Linked DNA regions of Homo sapiens: all the other regions are linked to region 1. The links are contacts of gene promoters, found by promoter capture Hi-C in blood cells and fetal thymus (Javierre and others, 2016). All regions are on one chromosome and are shown on one strand. The core of a region is centred on a gene start or on the middle of the fragment in contact, and the rest is flanking DNA. Distances in the headings are between cores, read along the strand shown.

Region 1 (3,499 bases), core at 1,000-3,499:
TACCCACTTAGGTGACTAAGTCCCTTCCCCAAGACCACCCCACTTTCCACCACTGCTGCCCACGCTTCATCCTCAGCGGAGGGCCCTTACTTTCCGCCACCCCAAGGCTAGCCAGAGTGGGCTGAGCTTCACCCCCATCTGTCTCCAGCCCCCACTGCACACCCCAATTCACTGGCTGAAGAAATGACATTTAGGCCAGGCATGGCAGCTCATGTCTGTAATCCTAGCACTTTGGGAAGCCAACATGGATGGATAGATAGCTTGAACCCAGGAGTTCGAGACCAGCCTGGGCAACATGGTGAAACCCCATCTCTACAAAAAATACAAAAACTAGCCGGGCATGGTGACACGAGCCTGTAGTCCCAGCTTCAGGAGGCTGAGATGGGAGGATCACCTGAGCCAGGGAGTTGTGAGGCTGCAGTGGACTGTGATTGTGCCACTGCACTCCAGCCTGGGTGAGAGTGAGACCCCATTTCAAAAAAAAAAAAGTGACATTTAGCCCTGTGCCTGTTGCTGCCTTTCCCTGAAGGGCCATTCTCCTCTCACCTCACCCTCACAGCCTCCCCGGCACAGAAAATAGGTGCCATCTGGGGACCACGGAGCACCAGCTTCCCTTCTGGGCCCCTCTCAGGTTCCTAGCAGGTTCTCAGCCACCGTGTGAGGGTCCTGGCAGCTCTCATCGGCAATCACTGCAGACCTAGGCAGGGAAACCCTGAGACATCCCAGTGCCTCCACTACTCCAGGTCCAGCCGTCCCAGAGCCTCCTCCAAGACAAGTGTCTCCTCAAGGCAGCCCAGGGCGCCTGGCACAACACTGGCCCAGGACCACAGCAGCCCCTTGGAAAAATCCCTGCCCCTCAAGGCTAAAATCCAACCCCACTGACACAAGAACTCAAGAAAGATATTGGTGCAGCTCACTCTGACTCCGGGCAAGCCGTCACCCCTCTCAGAACCTCAATTTTCTCACCTGTATTTTGAAGATAACTCTAATTTCGAAGAGCACTGAGAGGCTCTGCCATCAGTGGGCTCTGGGGTAAGAATGAGGACAAAACCAACGTCCCCAGAGCAGTGAGCCAGGAGTGGGCTGAGGCCCTGCTCTAACATCAGTGCAGAGGGAGGCGGGGGCTGAGGCGGCCCCTTTCCCTGGCCCCTAGTGTCCCACTCCGGGAAAGGAAGGAAAAGCCTCCACCTCACTCCACCTTGGTGCAGAAAGGCAGGACAGCTGGCCCATGTGGCAGAGGGAGCCAGGGCCCACAGTATGGAGAAAAGTAGCCTCATTTCACAGCTAGGGAAACTGAGGCCCCACGATGCGAAGTGCAGTGTAGTACACAGCCAGGCATGTCCCCTGGACTCGGAGCCCCGGGCAGGGCAGAGCAGGGCAAGGCAGAGCCTGGAGCAGTGGGGGAAGGAAGGAGAGGCTCCTTGAAGGGATTTCCCAGCCGCACCCCCCACAGCTGCCTCGCCCCCACTAACTCTCTCACCCTCCTGGGTGCCAAAGCACAAAACAAACCGGGCCCCAGGGCTGTCCCAAGGGCCGAGCAGGGACGCAATGGAGCCCCTAAGAAAAAGGATAAAGAGACAGAAGTGAGCGACAGAGGTCGAGAGACTCCACAGAGACAGAGAGAGAGACACGCAGGGAGAGACAGGCAAAGAAGACTCAGAGACGCACAGGCAGCAAGAGAAATGAGAGGCAGAGAGATAAAGGGAGACAGGCAGAGATAGGAAGGGGCAGAGGCAGAGACACCCCCACCACACACACAGGCACAACTGGGGCGAGACAGCCGGTCAGCGGCGGAGAAAGAGGGACAGAGACCCAGAGACAGGCAAAGAGTCTCAGAGACAGACCCCCACACACACAGACTGGCAGAGCCAGGGCCAGAGCGGCCCGCAGAGACTCGGGGAGCAGACACGGAAAGTCGGCCGGAGACCCAGACCCACCCAGAGTCCGAGCCAGAGCGGGGCCCGCCGAGGGGGTGCGCGGCCCGGCCCGGCCCCGCCCCGCGCCGCGCTGCATGCCAGCCCCCGCCCCCCGGGCCCGACGTGGCTCCGACCCCGGGCCCCCAGCCCAGGCCCCCGTCCCGCCCCCTCCCGCCCGAGCCCGGGCCCGGGCCGCCGCCGCACCTTGTTGAAGGCGAAAAGCTCCTGCTTGAGCTTCTCGCGCTGCGGGTCGGCGCCCTGCCGCCGGAACCGAAACTTCATCATCTTGCGCCCGGCTGCAGGCGCCTCGCCCGCCGCCGCCGCCCGCAGGATGCGCCGCGCGGCCCCGCGGGTCCTAAGGCGCGGGCGGGGCGCCAGGCGGCCCGGGCGCGGGCGCGCGGGGCCGGGCCTGCACGGGGGTGGGCGCCGGGCGCGACGGACGCGCCGCCCGACCAGTGAGCGAGCCCGCCGTGCCGCCCGCCCCGCCCCTGTTGGCCAGACAATGGTGAACTGGGCCCCCGGGCTCGGCCGGGCTCGCGAAGGGACGCCCGCCTAGCATGCGCCGCGGCGCGGGGCCTGCCGGGACTTGTAGTCCATGAGCCGGGGCTCCAGCGCGGGCGGCTGGGGAAGCGCTTTGGAGGGGGATTGGCGCACGTTCCCGGGCTTGGAGGAGACTTTTTCCTCCTCCCAGAGAGCGAGCGACGTGCCCACTCATGTAATGGGGCAGCCCTGTTCCGAAAGCCAAGACAGCTCTGACTGGAACAACTCCCTGGCCCCTCTGCGCCTCAGTTTCCCCATCTACACCATTGGTCAAGTGATTGCCAAGTTTATATTTTACCAATTTCACAGAACTCCATTTCGTCTGTTCCCCGCTCTGTCAGAGCACCTCCCACCGCCGTGCTTTTGCCTTGGCTTTGTAGTCAGGAATTCTTTCCTCACCCCCAGCCCCTGGGGAACTCCTACACATCTTTCAGGACCCAACGCAAAAGGCTCTGTGTCACAGCACAGGGGATTCTTTCTTAGCCAAAGAAAGAGACGGGATCCCCAGGAGGTGGCATTTGGGACTGTTCTGGGGTTGGATTGGAGCTTTACGGAGATGGGGGAAGGACCTCCCCCCGCAGAGAACAGCGTCTGAACAAAGCTTAGCCCTGCCCCTACTCTCAGGGGCCGTCTGCCTGTCCCCACCCACCTCCCAGGCCTTTTCTCATCTGGACAATGGCCTCGAGGCTGAACCTTTCCTTCCAGGCTGAGGATAGGCCGCCTGGCTCAGGGCTGGGGCTGCGGGAGGTCCTAGAAGCTTAGGTGGGGCAGGTAGGACAGGCCCCAACCCCACCAGCTGTGTCCAGGGAGCAGGAGCTGACCTCTGAGCCCGAGGCGGCTGCCAAGCCTTGGGGCCTGGCTGTCCCCCTCCACCCACGCCAGGCCGGCGGTGTTCAGCCCTTCCCCGTATTTGGGGCTGGATCCGGAAGAGGGCCCAGGAGTGAGTGAGGAGGTGAGAGGAGGGAGAATGACGACAGTAAAGCCCCTAAGTGTCTACTGCGGGGCAGGCGCTGTTCAAAGCCCTTTCCTGGTTTCAGCTGACT
Region 2 (3,037 bases), core at 471-2,970, 730 kb before region 1:
CAGGACTGAATGAAGAGGGCCCAGGAGGCCATTTGCCTCTGAGGGAAAGCTGGGCCTCACAGAGCACTTCCCGCAGACACAGCAGCCCTCACACGGTGGTCCTGCCCATTGCTACCACCAACTCACAGGAGCCCTAGGAGACAAGGTCTGCCGCCCCTCCTTACAAGGGAGGAGCCCCAGGCACAGGGAGGCTCGGAGGTCGCAGGGGCTAGTGTCAGCTCTCTCAGCCAGAATCAGGCAGCCCCAGGACTCAAGCCCCTTCAGAAGCCTGGGGCTGGATGAAGCTAGCTGCCCCCAGGGACTTGGAGTGAGAGCAGAAGGCCTAGTGTTGCCATGAGGTCACCGGGAGGGTTAGGACAAGCTCTTTCCCTTCTCTGGGCCTTAGTTTCCCTCTCTGTAAAGTCAGGGGCTTGGACAAGATGAGCTCTATGCTTCTCCTGACCCTGACATTCGAGGTGTGCTCCTGCTCTTAATATGCCCGTGGGGGCAGGGCCAGGCCCCCAAGGATGGGTGTCAGTGATGGAGCCCACCAGCCTTGGGGTGAGAGGCAGGTCAGCTCAGTGCAGACCAGATGTGGCTAAGACCACGTGGGCTTTTGGCGCCCCCTAGTGGGAGATCGTGGCTCACCCCGGTGCCGGCCCCAGAACTGACCTCAGACCGAGAACCGTCCTAACACCCTGTGTCTAGAACCTGAGGCAAAGCAGAGGTCACCAGGTTGTGTTCTGTCCCTGACTAGGGCTGGCTGCTGAGCCTACACCCCGGGGGCCCTGGACTACCTGTCCAGACTCGCTGCGTGACCCTGGGCAAGTCATTGCCCCTCTCTGGGCCTCAATTTGCCCAGCTGTTAAACAAGGCAGAGATGAATGAGAAGATGTCAGGTCCTCTTGAGGGGCCCACAGATTGGCGATGTTTCCAGGCTATGCCAGCAGGGAGCCGGGGGCAGCTCACCGATATCTTGGTGAAGACAGACAGTAGCAGGGACAGGACAGACAGGTACATGCGGATCCGCTGGCCCCCGTAGCGCTTCTGAATGTACTCAGGTAAGGTGACGATCTGGGAAGGCACATGGGTAGGGGCTAAGCATCCTCCAGATGATGCCCAGGGCTCCAGGCAGGGCCTGTCTCAATCACTCTGCCTCTCCCCCCGCCACAAAGCAGCTGCGAGCCTCTCAAGGGCAAGGCCCAGGCACTGACCCCTTACAGCCCCAGCACCCGGCCTGGAATCCCGGGCTGCTCCGGCTGCGCCCCGAGGGTGTCAGGCAGGGGAGTGGCAGGCTGAGATCCCTAGACTGGCTCTTTAGGGCTGAGACGAGGAATGGATTGGAGGGGCCGTGGCTGGGACAGAGGGACAAGTTTAGAGGCTGTTATGACAAATCCAGGTGCACTATGATGAGGCTGGATGAGGGAGGTGGCTGTGAGGGGCAGAGCTGGGGACAGGCTGAGAGACATCCAGGAAGTGGAGTTGACTGGACTTAGTGGCTGCATGGCTGGGGCTGAAGGAGTGGGCAGAGTCGACGATGGTGCAGCCAATTGTGCGGCCCAGGTGTGCCATTCAGGTACGCAGCCCAGGGGTACAGCCCAGGTATGCTACCCAGGTGTGTGGGCCAGGTGTGCAAACCAGGTGCATGGCCCAGTTGTACAGCCTATGTGCCCAGCTGGATGGGACATTATTCCTGAGATGCAGCACTCAGGGCAGTGGAAACCAGCCAACACGGCACCCAGGCTGAGGTCTGAGGGGATCCACCTTAGCAGGTTGATAGAAATATTAGTCGGGATCCACCTTAGCAGGTTGATAGAAATATTAGTCGGGCTAATAGCAAACCCAGCCCTAAGAGTTTACCAACTCCTGATGTGAGGCCACGGTGGTCCTGCCCATTACTACCACCAACTTGGACCAAGGCCCAGCCCCCCAGCTGGAGGCCCCATGAGTAGACTCACCTCTGAGGAGATGTAGATGGGCACGAACACCCATGCCAGTGCCAGCAGCACGTACGTGGCCTATGGGGACAGAGACAGGTGAGGACTGCAGGTGCAGCTCCCACAGCTCTGCTCCAGAGACAAAGCAGACATGGCTGGGATGAGCCATCCGGAGGCCTGGCTTCCCCCAGCCCCTCCTGACTTGCCATGAGATCCTGGGTGGCTCCTTCCCCTCTCTAGGTCTGGGCAAGGCCCACAGCTCCCTGCCAGTCGTGCCATCCAGCACCTTGGTATTCTGAAGACACGATTTGGCCCAGGAACAGCACTGCACAGAGCCCACCTGGACATCGGCTGACACCAGCCACTGGGAGCTGTCCCCCTCCAGTGCTGCGACCACATCCTGTGCCCTGGCCCTCCCACAGGCCGCCAGTCCTCCAGGACTCACATTCCACTCGAAGCCTGCCACGGCCAGACCTCCTGCCGCGCCTGAGCCCGCCAGTCCAATGAAGAGGCCAGAGCCCTCGCTGCTGGCGAAGAGGGAGGCTCCAATCTGGAGGAGAGAAAGGGAAACGCATCAGCAGCAGGCTCCCTGCGCCGGCCCCATCCTGGGCCTAATAGCTTCTCCCTCATCCTCACAAACCTAAGCGGGGTCCTAGCCCCACCTCACGGATGAGGAGCCCAGGGTGTGTGTTCTACCCATGACTAGCTGCACAGCTAAGGAGCGGATGTAAGTTTCAGACTCCATAGCCCCTGCCCCTTACACAATTTCTAGCAGCTCAGCCCTATGCCCCTCACTTGGGGACCTCCTGCCAGCCTCCGGCCTGCTCCACTGAATTGGACTGGCTCAAAGATACAGATGCCAGGTGACCTAGAGATCAGACACAGCCCCACGGACAAAGTGGGGGTGTGTGAGAAGTCAGGGTGCACTCACCGGCCACCACGTCATGTCCCGGCCTGCCAGGAAGTAGCCATTCACCGTGTTCCTACTGGCCCGACAAGAGGACTGCAAGAGGAGAAAAGGGACAGGAGTTGGAAGCCCGCACACTGCTGCTGGGAAGTCGAATGGGAAACGGCTTGGCAGCTCCTCAAAAGGTTACGCATAGAATCACCATATGACCCAG
Region 3 (3,022 bases), core at 474-2,973, 770 kb before region 1:
CCCACCGGGGGCTTTAGGCTGGGGCTGCTGGGGCTGAGTCAGGACAGCCCAGCCTTCCGCCTCCTCACTCACCTTACCTGTCGTCAGCACAACAGGCAGACCCTGGGGCAGGGAAGTGACGCAGCACTTAGGGGAGCGGCTGTGTTCCTGTCAGGACTGCTGTCAGTCCCCCCTGTTCCCAAATGACTAGAATGGAACTAGTGGACAGCAGGACCAGGAGCCAAGAGTCCGTGCTCTGCCTCTGCCTGACTGTGGGACCTGGAACAAGCCCCAGCTCCTCTCCAAGCCCCGGTCATCCCATCTGTAAAATGGGAACAGGTATTGAAGACTGTTAGGGGCCCCTTCAGCCCTGACACCTTGCTGCCCTGTGATCCTAGACTCCCCTGGGACAAGAGGCGGGTGGGTCCCAGGTCTCACTCTCAGCAGCTTGTGCCCTCCAGCCTCCCTCCAGCCCTAGTGGGCTCCTACTCCAAGATGGAAGGTCAACTGCCTGCCCCTCCCCTAGCCCCAGGAGCCATGATTTATCTGGGAAAAAACCTGCTGTGGGGTTCCAACTACATACCAGAGGACGGGCTTGTAAGATCACGCCTGGGAGGGGCGAGCCCCGGCCTCACTTGGCTGCAGCCTGAGAAGGCGTGAGGCTGGGCTGGGTTGGGGCTTCCTCAGCCAGAGCTGGATGTAGATGTTCTAGCTGGTTGCTCCTCCAGCAGATGCTGAGCCCCCCTCAACAGGACACAGCAGGGGGGCCTTAGCAGGATCCCTCACCAGCCCCAGGGTGAGGCCCCAGGGCAGGGACAGATCACACCTTCCTTATTTCACAGTTGAGGAAACTGAGGGCAGGTGAGGCGCCGGTGGCCAGGGCCAGAACACTGATCTCTGCATGCCAGGCCAGGGCTTGGGAACAGACCCAGAGAAATAAAGTCGAACCCAGGTTTCACGAAGCCTGATTCACCCCACATTTTTTCTGTCAGGCCCCCGCCTTCACACACTGAAGTCCTGGCCCACAGCTTGGCTCTGAGAGAATAGAAGCAGCTTAATGAGGTGCTTACTAAATGCCAGCCCCGCGCCAGGTGCTGAGCGGGCACTTTACCATGCTGTGTAATCCTCCCCACAACTCTGGAAAGTAGGTGTTGTCTCCATTGTGCAGATGAGGAAACTGAGGCTTGGTGGGGCTCGGAGATGGCAAATAACTGGCCTGAGGTCACAGAACTGATATCTGGAGGGACTGGGCCGAGACCCCCAGTCTGCAGGCCCTGAGCACCCTCCCATTCCCTGGAGAAGCAGTGGCACTGTTCCTTCTGAGCCCTACCCCTGCATGGGAGCACCAGAGCCTCACTGCTGGATCCTGTTGACTCAGGACAGTAAAAGCATTTTCTTTTTTTTTTTTTCTTCTTGAGACAAAGTCTTGCTCTGTCGCCCAGGCTGGAGTGCAGTGGCACGATCTCTGCTCACCGCAACCTCCGCCTCCAGGGTTCAAGCGATTCTCCTGCCTCAGCCTCCTGAGTAGCTGGAATTACAGGTGTGCGCCACCACGCCCAGCTAATTTTTGTATTTTTAATAGAAACGGGGTTTCACCGTATTGGTCAGGTGGGTCTCGAACTCCTGACCTTGTGATCCACCCGCCTCTGCCTCCCAAAGTGCTGGGATTACAGGCATGAGCCACCGTGCCTGGCAGTAAAAGCGTTTTCATGAGGCTCCTTGGCAGCTAAATACTGGGCTCTCTGGAGGAGGGCTGGGACGGGGACTCACAAGAACAGGGTGAGCTCTGTGGCCTGGGGACCAGGAGGAAGGCCACTCATTGCATCCTTTAGCTGGGCAGTGCCAGGACAGCTCCCCACACTGCCAGAGGCCACAGGTGGCCCAGTTGACACCTTGTGGGGCGCACAGCTGGCCCAGGCTCCCACCACAGGTCAGAGAGTGGGTGGGGAACCATCTGATAAAGTAATCCCAGGTGTTAACTCCTGTGCGCTCCAAAGGCTCCCTTCCCTTAATTAAGAGTTTCGAGGAGAGCCGGGAGCAGCCCTTCGAGGAAGGAGCTCTAAGGAGAGAGTGCCTGCCCGTCTGGGCACTCCAGTGGGACAGGCAGCTGCTCAGCCACTGGGCTGGCCTCCTTCCCACAACCCCAAGAGCCAGGGCCTGCCGTCATGTTCATATCACAGCTGGGGAAACTGAGGCTCAGAGTCGGCTGGGGCCTTCATAAGGTTACACCAAGGGTCTTAGGTGTGGCTGGACCTGGATTGGGTCTCCCTGGCTGGAGAGGGTCTCCCTGCAGCTGAGGGTCCTGGCCCCTGGGCCAGCAGAGAGTGCTGGTCCCACTTAGCCACTTGCATGCTGCAGGACCCTCGGCCTCAGTTTCTTCACTTGTAAAATGGGGATCAGGCCTTGTCTTGACGCAGTGATAGACAGGAGCATCCAAAAGCACTGAGCTACCCTCTGCCTTGAGAGCAGCTGGGGAGGAAGATGGGGTCCCACCCTGTGCCCTGGCCCACGTTGGCCCCAGCCTGGCAGGCCCTGGCCTGGTTGGGCTGTCCTAGTCCCCTTTAAGGGTCTGAATGACCCCTGGGCTCGAGTACCTTGCCAGGTTAAATGCCATGTGGGGTGGTGGGAAGACAGGCTTCCGTATCACTGGGACCCAGGCATGAGCCCCAGCTCTGGTGTTATCTTTAGTGGCTGCTTGGAGATAGTTGCTTGGCCTCTCTGACCTTCTGTTCCTTCCTCCTCAGTGTCATGGTAGTGCTAACAGCTAACACCTGCCTCATAAAGTCAGTGAGATTTAAATGGGAAAAAGTGTGGTGTGTAAAACACTCTGTGTCTGGCATGGAGCTGGCATCGGTAGATGCCAGATCTCTCCCCTCGCCTCCTCCACCTTCACTCCTCACTCCTGTCCTGAGAGCTTCTCTCTGTGAGTAGTCTGGGGTGGAAGTGGTGAGCTCCCTGTCCTGGGAGAAGTTCAAGCAGGGGCTCACTGGAACGCAGCAGAGAGCATGTGGGCACCAGGTGGCCTAGAAGCCTCAGCCCTGCC

What was found. Contacts are between HindIII fragments. The CHiCAGO score rates a contact against its expected background, and 5 or more counts as called.
Region 2: a fragment that was not itself captured here is called in contact with the fragment with the promoter of LLGL1 in region 1 in 1 of 17 cell types (fetal thymus); the score reaches 5.1 in fetal thymus.
Region 3: a fragment that was not itself captured here is called in contact with the fragment with the promoter of LLGL1 in region 1 in 1 of 17 cell types (fetal thymus); the score reaches 6.7 in fetal thymus.

What each region holds. Positions count from the first base shown.
Region 1 is chr17:18,224,385-18,227,883 of GRCh38, reverse strand. LLGL1 (LLGL scribble cell polarity complex component 1) reads right to left here and starts at 2,249. Exons shown (of 23, transcript NM_004140.4): 1 at 2,121-2,249. The coding sequence starts at 2,201. RefSeq lists silencers at 1,788-1,957, 2,108-2,587. The HindIII fragment of the contact is 4,006 bases long and covers 1-3,059 here.
Region 2 is chr17:18,958,564-18,961,600 of GRCh38, reverse strand. SLC5A10 (solute carrier family 5 member 10) reads right to left here. Exons shown (of 15, transcript NM_001042450.4): 2 at 2,848-2,919; 3 at 2,362-2,466; 4 at 1,938-1,997; 5 at 949-1,053. Among named protein-coding and RNA genes, the nearest start is that of SLC5A10, 7.9 kb to the right of the region's middle. RefSeq lists an enhancer at 1-521 and a silencer at 521-680. The HindIII fragment of the contact is 7,255 bases long and covers 1-3,037 here.
Region 3 is chr17:18,997,650-19,000,671 of GRCh38, reverse strand. The region is part of intron 9 of SLC5A10 (solute carrier family 5 member 10); the gene reads right to left. All of the region lies in intron 2 of FAM83G (family with sequence similarity 83 member G), which reads left to right. Among named protein-coding and RNA genes, the nearest start is that of FAM83G, 5.6 kb to the left of the region's middle. The HindIII fragment of the contact is 7,329 bases long and covers 1-3,022 here.